Regions from separate parts of the Homo sapiens genome. Here region 2 is linked to region 1. Evidence: promoter capture Hi-C in 16 types of primary human blood cells and fetal thymus (Javierre and others, 2016). All regions are on one chromosome and are shown on one strand. Each heading gives the region's core, a stretch centred on a gene start or on the middle of the fragment in contact. The rest is flanking DNA. Distances are from core to core; before and after follow the strand shown.

Region 1 (5,738 bases), core at 214-2,713:
TGGGAGCTGGAGGTTATGGTAAGCCATGATCACACCGCTGTATTCCAGCCTGGATGACAAAGCAAAACCCAGTCTCTAAAACATAAAAGAAAGAAAGGAGGGAAGGAAGAAAGAAAGGAATGAAAGCAAGCCGAATCTGCTCCGAGGGAACCAGTATAGCAAGACAGAATGTAATCAAGTATCTTAAGAGTGGCCTAGGCTTGGCTGGGTGCTGTGGCTCACGCCTGTAATCTCAGCACTTTGGGAGGCCGAGGCAGGCGAATCACTTGAGGTCGGGAGTTTGAGACCAGCCTGACCAACATGGAGAAACCCTGTCTCTACTAAAAATACAAAATTAGCCGGGCGTGGTGGCGCATGCCTGTAATTCCAGCTACTCGGGAGGCTGGGGCAGGTGAATCGCTCGAACCTGGGAGGCGGAGGTTGCGGTGAGCCGAGATGGCGCCATTGCACTCCAGCCTGGGCAACAAAAGCGAAACTCCGTCTCAAAAACAACAACAACAACAACAACAAAAAGTGGCCTAGGCTTTTTGGGGAACAAATTGGTTGTGGCTGGCCCTCAGGGAGCAAGCTTTGCGGCATAGCAGCGTAGGCTAAAAGGTCCTCCCCGGAGACAAAATCTGCAGGGACCACGGGGTGGGAAGCATCAGAAGGCTGCCCACTCTGACTGCAAATACAACAAGCTGGAGTGTTCCTAGAAGAGGCAATTTCTTCCGCGTGTGTGTTGGGGACAGCCTGTGTGTGTGAACATTTTCTGCCCTTGCCGCGCAGAGCTGGGTGGACCAGAAACCACCCGCAGAGGAAGAGACTTATTACCTCTTGGCCATGTCTGTCTCCAGAAGAACCGACCTTTCCTGCTCTATGTGCAACAAGACACACCTTCCGAGGAAGGAGGCGAACAGGATTTCCATCATTACTACTGCCCTATTAAAACACACACATACACACAACTGTGTAATTAGCCTCTGCAGGAAAGGCGCACAAACAGGATGCGTTCGAGCTGACCCCGGGATGAGCCATCCCTGTAAATATTAGGAAAAAGAACCTCCCCGCCGTGCCCCCGCCTCCGGCCAGGGCCTCTTGGGGATGGCCCTGCAGGGTCACCAGCCCACCGGGGAGGTTGGGAGAGAGGGGGCGGGCGACTCCTCGCCGCGCGGGTTCCTGGCTGGAGCGCCCTCCTCTGCGTCCTCCCAACCTTCCATCGCTCCCCAGGTCAGTCTACCACGCCTCAGGTGTTTGCTCGGGCTGGGCCACGAACCCTTTCCTTTTTGGCCTGCGCCCGGGGTGGCCCCTAACCCGCAGCGCACGGCCAGACCCAGCGCTACAAGGAGGGCGCGCAGGGCGGCGCAAGCGGGCACTGGCCTCCCGGGGGCTTGCGCGGGGATCCACCCACCGCAGGGCCGGGCCGCGGACCGCGGGCCACGCCCCTGGGGTCCGGAAGGCGCGGGAGCGGACGCGGGGGTTCTGTGAACTTGGAACCTGGCGGTGCGAGGTTCTCGCCGGGGATGCGGCGGCGGCAGCTGCTTCCTGGTTTGAAGCTCGCCGAGTGGGGGAGAGCGTGAGCCTTCGGAGGCGGGGGCAGGAGGAGAAGCAAGAGGAGGCGGGGGAAGAGACGCTTGGGGCTGGGGCTCACCGGACGGGTAGGTCCGGCTCTCCAGGGAGAGGAGCTGCCCGGCCCTGGAGAAGGGGCGAGTCCTGCGCGAGTCCCCGGGAGGCGCCGCGCGCTTGGAAGGGACGGTCGGGCTTCCCCGGCCCGCTGAGGGCTCGGCGGCGGGCTCCCCTCCTTTCCACCTCGGGAGGGAGGGAAGGAGGGGAGGGAAAAGTCCCACGGAGGAGGCAGAATGGCCAGTCGAGGGGCGCTTAGGCGCTGCCTTTCCCCAGGGCTGCCTCGACTCCTGCACCTGTCCCGAGGGCTGGCCTGAGACGGGACTCCCGGTTCTCCCGCTGCGAAGCAGCGCGGCCCCCCGGGGCCGGGGCAGCGGCGCCGGCATGTCGTCTGGCACCATGAAGTTCAATGGCTATTTGAGGGTCCGCATCGGTGAGGCAGTGGGGCTGCAGCCCACCCGCTGGTCCCTGCGCCACTCGCTCTTCAAGAAGGGCCACCAGCTGCTGGACCCCTATCTGACGGTGAGCGTGGACCAGGTGCGCGTGGGCCAGACCAGCACCAAGCAGAAGACCAACAAACCCACGTACAACGAGGAGTTTTGCGCTAACGTCACCGACGGCGGCCACCTCGAGTTGGCCGTCTTCCACGAGACGCCCCTGGGCTACGACCACTTCGTGGCCAACTGCACCCTGCAGTTCCAGGAGCTGCTGCGCACGACCGGCGCCTCGGACACCTTCGAGGGTTGGGTGAGTAGCGGTGACCCCTTCCCTTTGTGTCCACCCAACCCCCGTTCCCCTTATGTTTTTCAAAACTCACCCGGGTCCCGCTTTCCCATCGCTTTGTGGCTGAGGGAATTCCCTCCAGACTTTGGTCTTCGTCCACGTGGCCGCGGCACTGGTGACGCGACCGCGGTGGGTGTGTGCAGGCGCAGGTGTGTCTCCAGGAAGCCGGCCTGGACACGATCCCCTTTCAGGACAGCGGCTTGGCCTAACGGGAAGTCGGGCAGGGGTCCAGGGCGGTCACCCTTTCCGCCCAGTCTTTGGGTAAGGAGCTCCAACTTTCAGCACGAGAGTGATAGGTAGGAAAGGCAGGGAAGGAGTGATACAAAAGGGACTTGATTTGGGTAAAGTGCTTCAAGCGCTACTTAGGAGAAAGCCGTACATTCTCGCGAGTATTATTCATAATGTTTATGGATACATGTTGGTTCAGCCGCTCAGACGTGCACACGTGTTTCGGCTTGCACATCCCAGAGGTACATGAGCTACACTGGCAGGGAAATGAGCGCCTGGGTCTGCACGTTGGCAGTTTTATTATTTAGCATTTTTCCAAGGAGATGAGATTTACATATACTTGCAAGTAACTTAGTCAGTCCGAGGTGGGAGTCCTGCAGTGTGGGTTTCTGCTGCTATGGGTCTGAGAAGAGGCTGTAAGGACTCCTCAGGAGGTTGTTAACTGTCTTCCCTCCCCCCATCACCAGCCTGTGTTCCTGGGTATTGACGTGTAGCTACCCGCAGCTCTCCCCTTGCCTCTGCTTTTCACATAGTTCCCAGGAGGCATAATTTCTGCTGTAAATCAATTAAAACTTCTAGAGCGCTCTACACGGTGCTAACATGCTTTTACTGCCTAATCCTCACACTGTCTTTGTGATGCAGGTGTCATCGTTCCCACTTTGAGATGATGGAATGATAATTATAATAAAGTAGTCTGGTTTGGCAAAGTGGAGTACGCCATTTGAAGACTCTCAGGAGTTTAATAGTTTAAGTTCTGGAGGGAGTCAGTTTTGAACCCAATATCAGTATTGAAAATGTTTGAAATTTACAAGTGGTGAAATCAGATGGATGGTGATGAAGGCTCATTTAGGTATTTATTTTATACTTTGTGGAATTAGTAATTTTACCGTATATTTTCTAAAATTAAAGATGGCTTGTGGAGCTATTCCTTTCTTTTAAATAGAAGTACAAAAACCATAATGACTAACCTTAATCGTCAAATTATATTGAGTTAATTTCCCTTCAGCCTAATTTACTTTGTGGTACTTAGAAGTGGGGACTAGAGAGGAATTGCTAAAATACAGTTAGATATTTACATTTATCCTGTGAATTTCTGGAAATGAAATAGAAGTGAGTGTAGGCATCCAGATGGAATTGTTGAGTTCTATTAGTGTCTGATTAGGAGTTAGGTCGGGCAAAGCTCTAGAGGAACTAGGTTCTGAATTATGGTGGTGCAGATTGGCCAGTGGCCATGAGAAGCATCTCTTCCTGGAGATAGCCTAGACTCGTCCTTCTCAACCATAATCTTCCCACTTGAATCACCCAGGGACCTTTAAAAAATCCCCACTTTTAAAGATTCTAGATAGGAATCTCTGGCTGTGGGACCCCATCATCCGTACTTTTAGGCTCACCAGGTGATTCCAGTATGCAGTCGAGGTGGAGAACCTGCAGCCTACATGAAGACCAAAAGATGAGGACTTCTTGGTGTCATAAGTGTAGGAAGATCCACGTTATCTGACTAGGTGGCATGTACAGAGCTGCTTATTGTTCCACTGGATGAATATTCAGTGTAAATCAGATATCGATATTTATAATGGTCTGAAATAATTACACTTAGATGTTTAATATAACCCACTGGTGGTGTTTTGGAAAACGTTGAGTGGTTGGTAGGGAGGGTCAGCATTTAAATGACCTTGAAACCAGCAGTTTTTCATGCGTTTGCATGCATCAGAAGGCAGATTTTTTTTTTGTTGTTTTTTTTAAAAAGGTTTTGGGTATTTCAGAACTGTAAGGATATGGAACATAGGTTGGGCAGAGTGTTGTTTCTTTTCTTTTTAAAGAAAATCTTGTTAAAAAAATTTGGAAATATATGGAATGCATGCTTTTTTAAAAAAGTATCCTTTATAGGTTCAAAAATGCTTTAAAAAAATAGAGATGGGGTCTTGCTACCTTGTTGACCAGGCTGGTCTTGAACTTGTGGCCTCAAGCCATCCTCCCACTTCAACCTCCCAAAGTGCTGGGATTACAGGTGTGAGCCACTGCATCTGGCCCAAAGGTGCTTTTGAAGTTCAGGATTAAAGAAATACTTATTTATCTTTAGTATTTTAAATTGACATGTAGTTTATTCAGAGAGTTAAATGTGGAATAATTGAATTTACTCCATAATAAATTTATGGTTGCAAGTGGAACTACAGATTACTGACTTAAAAAAAAACTATTGAAGTTGCAGGTTCAAAAAACCCCCAAAACCTAGTGACTTAGTTTTTGCTAGATCCAGAGAAGCTCTTAGCTGTAGGTTATGGATGAGAGGATTCAATATGGTTAAGATCTCAATTCTTCCCAAAGTATTCAATAGGTTCAGTATAATCTCAGTCAAAATCTAAGTTTGTTGTAGAAATTGACAGACTGACTTTAAAATTTATATGGAAATGTAAAGTACTGAGACCAGTCTAAGAATAGTTTTGAAAAAGAACAAGTTGGGGGACTTAGAGTATCTGATTTCAAGGCTAACTGTAACATGACCGTAATCAAGATAATGTGATATTGGAATAAAGAGAGTCATACAGATCAGTGGAATGAATAGAAGAGAGTCTAGGAATAGATCCACACATATATGACCCACTGATTTCTGATAAAGCTGCCAAGAAGGCAACTCAGTGGGGGAAATGATAGTCTTTTCAACTAATGGTGCTTGAACAACTGGATAGCCACATACAGTAATATGAGCCTTGACACTTACCTCACATCCTACAAAGACATTAATTCAAAATGGATTATAGACCTAAATGTAAGAGTTTAACTGTGAAACTTCTATAAGAAAACAAAATTGTAGTGACCTTGGGTTCAGCAAAAAATTTTTAGATAGCGTACAAAAGGCACCAACTATAAAAAAATCAGTAAGTTGGACTTTATCAAAATGAAAAACTATTGCTTCCCAGAGAATGTTTAAGAAAATAAAAACCCAAGCCACAAATGGGGGAAAATAACTGCAATACGTAAATGAAAGATGTGTAACATGAATATATAAAAGAACTCTAACAGCACAATAATAATGAGAAAAATACCTAATTTAAAATCCAACAAATGACTTGTAACTTGTCAAATATTTCAATAGGCACTCACCTTCATGCCAAATAGCACATTAA
Region 2 (5,849 bases), core at 2,779-5,278, 170 kb after region 1:
TTATCCTACAGTGTTCAGTCAGCTGATGACTTCAAGATTTTATTAAACACTCCTTGTAAATAATTTATTTGAAGGTTAGGTAAGGCCGGTCATGTTGCCAATCCCTGGAGGAGCCATCTATTCACAGTGAGTTCTCTGTGTCCAGGTCTGTGCATTTATACTCAACAATGGGTTTATAAAATATTAGAGCCAGAGGAGACCTCAAACGTTGCTAAGGGCCAAGTTATCTTTTACAGATGAGGGACTTCAGGTGTGAAACGTCCAAAAATTGTTTCTCATAGTGGATATTCTCTTCGGATGACTCATCTGCTGTTTGCTTTCCATCTCCAGGAAAACAAAAATATGGCTAGAAAATTTTGTTTCAGTCTTCAACTTACAGCTGGCATGAAGAGCAAACCAAGACATTTTGAGGCATTCAACCCTGTTTACTCCATTGCAGTGAGAAAAATCCAGTTGAGATCAGAACATATTTCCTGAGCTGCCACCTAGTGCCGGATGTTGCATTAGGAGGTGTAGATACAAGATGAGTAGATGAGATGTCTGCCCTTTGAGGCGCTTTCTGTGGGGTGAGAGAGATAGCCATTAATAAGTCATGGCAGCTGGGTTCCAAAATTGGAGTTTTCCCAGGGTATCTTGGGAGCAGACAGAATGGCCACTTGCCCTAAGATGGATGTTCAGGCAAACTTCCTGGAGGAGGTGATGCCTGAGCTGAGTGTGAAGAGTTAAAAGCTGAACAAAGATAAGGAGGGTGTTTAGGTAGGGGAGCAAGTTTGAGCAAAGCAGAGAAGTGTGGTGAATGTGTAGTTAAAGTGGAAAATGACAGGAACTTTGGTAGCACTGGAGCCTGAAGTTGGAGGCATGGGAAGAGGGAAGGCTAGAGGAGGCTGCAGAAATGAAGTATTAAGCACTTACTGTTCTTGAGATGTTTGAATTCTGGGTCACTTAGGACTTTGCTCCATTGCCTATCACAGGAAACATAAAAATGACAGTGGCTTAAGCCAGATGGAAACATAGTGCTCTCTCACATGAAAAGCCTGGAGGTAGGTAGTCCAGCCCCGCCATGGAAGCTCCGTGGAGTCATTTGCAACCCAGATTTCTGTGCTTTCTGTTCTGCTGTAGACAGGGTCACGTCCTTGTCTAAATGGTTGCTGAAGATCTAGGAATCATCTCTCTATTCCAATTCCATGTAGTAAGAAGGGCTAGAGGGCATTCCTCCAAACTGAGTCAGCTCCCTTTAAGGGGCCTCCTGGAATTCCACACAGTACTTACCATGGAATTGGCCAGAACTTGATCATATGGCTGAGTCTAGCTCCAGTGAAAGCCAAGAAATACAGTATTACAAGTGGCCATGTTCCAGCTAAAAATCAGCATTCCATTATTAAGAAGGGAAAGAATCATTATTTGATAGAAAACTTGCAGTGTCAGACACAAATTCCATGCCAGGGAGTCTGGGCTTTATGGAGCAGGTAACCTTTGAAGAATTCTCAGCAGGTCTTATGACATGAGTGGATTTATATTTTACTTTTACGTGCGGGTGGGGGGCATGGCATGTGTGGACATACCCATGGTAAGCAGCAGCCAGGTTGCAAGGGAGAGGTTCATTTTGAGGCAGTTGCAGAGTTCCAAGTAACAAGATAATGAGGACCTGAACTAAGACAGTGATGGTAGGGCTGATGAGAAAGGCATAAGAGATAATAGCAAGTAAAGCTGATAGGACTTAGTATTTGGGTGGATTCAGGGTAAAAAAGAAACCGGAAATCATTTCCAGGTGTTTAGCTAGAAGGTTGAGTGGATGGCAGTGCCATTAGCTAGGAGAGATCATGTGCCTAGGAAGAAGTCTAGGCAAAAGAGGAAGAAGTTTTAGAAAGGTTGTATGACAGGTGCCTGAGGTATACTCCAGTGGAGATGCTCCATGGATAGGGGCATAGGAGTCTGAAGCTCAGTAAAGAGGATGGGCTGAATTAAATATTTGGAAGTCATCAGGACATAGCTATTAGTTGAGACCACGAGACTGAATGAGATCACCCAATAGGAGTCTCTTAAATGGAACAGTGTGAGTCAAGGACAGAACCCTGGGGAACCAGACTCCATTAGAAATCTGCCTAAATTTGGCTCCAGGGTTATAGAAACAATTGGTATGTTCATCATTTAGAGTAAGTATCCCCAAAGTGCCAGTGTATTAAAAATATAATTCCATAAAAGTATAGAAAAAGATCACTTACTTTAGAGTATGTGTGTGACGCTACATATATTCTTCCTACTGAAAGAATGCTGGACATGGTTTTCAGAAGCCCTGCATGCTAGACCCAGCCCTGGTCCTGGGGATGTGGGCAGGTTGCTGAATGCCCCTAGCCCTTTGGCCCATCTGTACAGTGGAGGTGCCATTGACACAGCTTCCCAGCAGGGTCCTTGTAAAACTCAAATCAGATGGAAGTGGAAATGCGAATGCTTTTTGGAACATGCCGTGTCAATATAAGAGGTTATCTTTGCATATGTGCTGTCACCTGATTTGGGTTTTCTTGGTATCCATAGGCATAGGCAGCAATTATTCTCAAGACACTGCCTGAATAACAGGTAATTCTTCATAGAAATTGGAGTTTTAGCTTGTAAAAATCAACCTTCTGAAGACCAGTCTCTATAGTAAACTCTGGTCATGCTTTTCTTTGAAACCAAATCATTTTCTCTGTATTTTCACAATATTTTGGAATTGCAAGTGATTGATATACTTACCATGAACTTACCATAAACCCTTGAGATAATTTTCTTAGGAAGTCCTAGGGCATATGTGACAGGTTGTACAACCTGAAGACTATACTCTGGCATTTTGCTTCAATTTCAACAGTTTCTAATGTTTAGGGGAAGCAGTTGACCTCATTTTGAGTTTACGCCTTCTGGTATTAAAGCAGATGTTTGATGGTTAATTTGAGAGGAGATTCAAGAACCTTTTCAGACCATTAGTGGAGTGAACATCCTGAGGGTGTAATCCCAGTAATGCAGTTTCTCAAAGGACCTAACTTTATAACAGATAGACATTTAAGTCCTGGGACACCTTGATCATTTTTCTGTACTTCATATATTAAACCAGAATGCTGATCCTGGCATACCTCCTCAGGGTTTGGCCTTTTCATCAGTGAAGGCTGTGACTATTTGGAACTAATTGATAAATGTGTTAGTGGCTTTCACCAGCTAATGAAACCAGGCCACCAGTTTTGCTCTTCTTCCCACCAAATTGACCAAGCAACCAATTGCTTCATTATAATTACAGAGAATCTTGGATTTATTTGCTGAACAAGAAAAATACAGTCATTTAATCTTTATGTATTAAATGAACACAACCATTTGTAAAAAGTAATTGAATTGTACAGTTCAACAAATGTTTATGAAAAGTCTACCCAATGCAAACCTTTGTCAGGCTCTTAGGGAGTAAAAGAAGAATAAAGACAGGTCCTGCCCTCGAGCTTGGGGTGTTTGTTCTTTCCGTTAACAAATAATTTTTTTGTTGTTGGGCACTCACTGTGTACCAGACGCTACTGTGAGCTCTGGAAAAATACAGGAAATAAAACAGACAAAACCCCCTCCTCTCAGGGAGCTTAACTTCTAGCACAAGTAGTAGGACAAAATATAGAAAGAACACAAAAGTAGGACAAAAGACAAAAATATATTGAATGTTAGGGTGATTCAGTATATGGATAAAAAACTTGGTAGGAGCAATATAAAATTCAGTAACAAAGATTTACTGTTTGACACAGAGATTTTTAAAAGCTTCTCTGATAAGGGACATTTGAGCAGATGAACAAAGACCTAAGGATGGGAGGAGGCAGCTCCATGTGAATATCTGGGAGAAGAGTGTTCTAGGCCAAGTCCTTGGAGGGAGAGTGCGCAGTGGGATCAAGGAGCAGCAGAGGGACCAGTGGGCTGGAGCAGATGAATTCGGGCGTCATGGGCGTCGAGGGCCCAAGCCTTTTTGTTTTCTTTCTGCAATACAGAATGCTAACCACATGTGTTGAGCATTTGTCCTGTAAGGATAAACTCCTCTGTTTAATTGTATCTTCTGTATGACAGTTGCACAAGGTAAGTGGCATTATCCTTATTTTGCAGACAAAGGTCAGTGACATTATCCTATATTTGAGGCTCTGGGAAGTGAAAGGACTTGTTCAAGGTCACACAGTATGTGGTGGAATCTACAATTCCACTCCATGATATCCTTTTGAATCCATGCAGGTGCTGAGTTCCCTCACCCATCAGGCCTTTCCACACGTTTCCCCCTGCTTAGAATGCTCCCCCATCTCTTTGCCAAGCTTCCAGCTACCAATTCTTGCAGTCTCATCTTAGTCATCACCTCCTCTGATAAGCCTTTCCTGGACTCCCCTACCCTCCAGATTCCATCTAGGTTAGGTGCCCCCTCTGTTCCCATGGCATCCCGTGAAACCCTTCCCTTAGTGCTTTCCATAGGCTGTGCCCCTGTGCATATGGGTTCATGAAGGCAGGGACTGTGGCTGTCCAAGCCCAGCCCCTAGGACAATGACAGGAGAGTTAGGTGTTCTTAGGTGTTCATGGAATTGACCAAGGCCTCAAATTCTACGCTTTTTTTATTTTAAGATGACAGGTCAGGGCTGAGAATATATTATGATTGCTACCATTTATTGAGCATCTACTACGAGCCAGGCTCTATTCTGAGCTCTCTGCATTAACTCACCTACTCCTCATGACAGCGCTATGATATGACACTCAGCTTGGGAAGAGCTGCCCATTGATTGTCTTATTCTGGCCCAAACCCATGATTTTCTCATAACTCAAAGCAGTCTTTTTTAAATAAATGAAAGCCTTCTGGAAAGTTTCTCTGATTGACCGAAAAGGATGTTTGCACATCTGTAGTAGTGATGCATTTATATCCTCATACATATTTATTTGGATCTGACTTCGATTCTTTCCTTAGAACAGATTCCTGGAAAGGCACACAAATTAACGACTTTTAGAGCTGGCATTGTGGATAAGAGCTGGGGCTCCTGAGTAGAATGGACCTGGGTGTTTCCAGTCTTGGTTCTGCCACTTCTCTGTTGTGGGATCTTGATCAGGTTACTTTACCTCTCTAAGCCTCAGTTTCTTCAATGATAAAATGGAAGTCCTGGAAATACTCACCTGAGGGTGGTTGTTAGAATTAAATTTGTGATGTGGAGGTGCATGTAAAGCCTTTAGCCCAGAGCCTGGTATGTAGTACATGCTCAGTGATGTTCACTTTTAAACATTCTGTTTGCTACCACTTTTGGGAAAAGCATCAAACACATGTTCCAGTGACGGGTATTGGTGCCATTTTTCTAGTTCCCCTCATAGATCTTAAGTGCACAATTGGATAAATTTTGACATATGTACACATTGTGTAATCAATACTCCAAATACTATATGGAACATTTCTGTCATCCTAGAAAGTTTTTAGTGCCCCTTTCAGTTAGTCCCCAAACACCCCCATAGGCACCCAGTGATTCTGTGTTGATATTATAGGCTGTGGATATCCACATTGAAACTATTGAGTGTCTTCAAAGTAGAATTGCTTCTCAGGAGTGTCCTTTTCAGTATAAGAGGATGGGCTCTTTAAACTGACTACATGAGTGTAATGGCAGTTATGATCAGAAGAGACTACCCAAAGAAAGACTTCATCCCATCAGTCAGTTTTACTCTCTGTAGAGAAAAGTAATTACAGGAGGATAAACACCAGCACATCAACAGTTGTTGTCTGAGGTAATATAGGTGATTTTTATTTTCTTTTTGATGGTTTTCAAATGTTCTGTATTGAACAAGTGTTGTCTTTTTATCATTAAAAAAATGCCATCCTATTTATTTATTTATTTAGA

Evidence for each region. The method cuts DNA at HindIII sites, captures the fragments that hold promoters and counts their contacts. A CHiCAGO score of 5 or more calls a contact.
Region 2: a fragment that was not itself captured here is called in contact with the fragment with the promoter of PRKCH in region 1 in 1 of 17 cell types (non-activated CD4 T cells); the score reaches 7.6 in non-activated CD4 T cells.

Annotation. Positions count from the first base shown.
Region 1 is chr14:61,320,116-61,325,853 of GRCh38, forward strand. It overlaps PRKCH (protein kinase C eta), which reads left to right and starts at 1,464. Exons shown (of 14, transcript NM_006255.5): 1 at 1,464-2,349. The coding sequence starts at 1,987. It overlaps PRKCH-AS1 (PRKCH antisense RNA 1), which reads right to left and starts at 2,703. Exons shown (of 5, transcript NR_186042.1): 1 at 2,420-2,703. RefSeq lists silencers at 1,257-1,526, 1,677-1,846 and enhancers at 1,808-2,352, 2,353-2,896. The HindIII fragment of the contact is 5,451 bases long and covers 567-5,738 here.
Region 2 is chr14:61,492,186-61,498,034 of GRCh38, forward strand. The region is part of intron 10 of PRKCH (protein kinase C eta); the gene reads left to right. Among named protein-coding and RNA genes, the nearest start is that of PRKCH-AS2, 50 kb to the right of the region's middle. The HindIII fragment of the contact is 536 bases long and covers 3,761-4,296 here.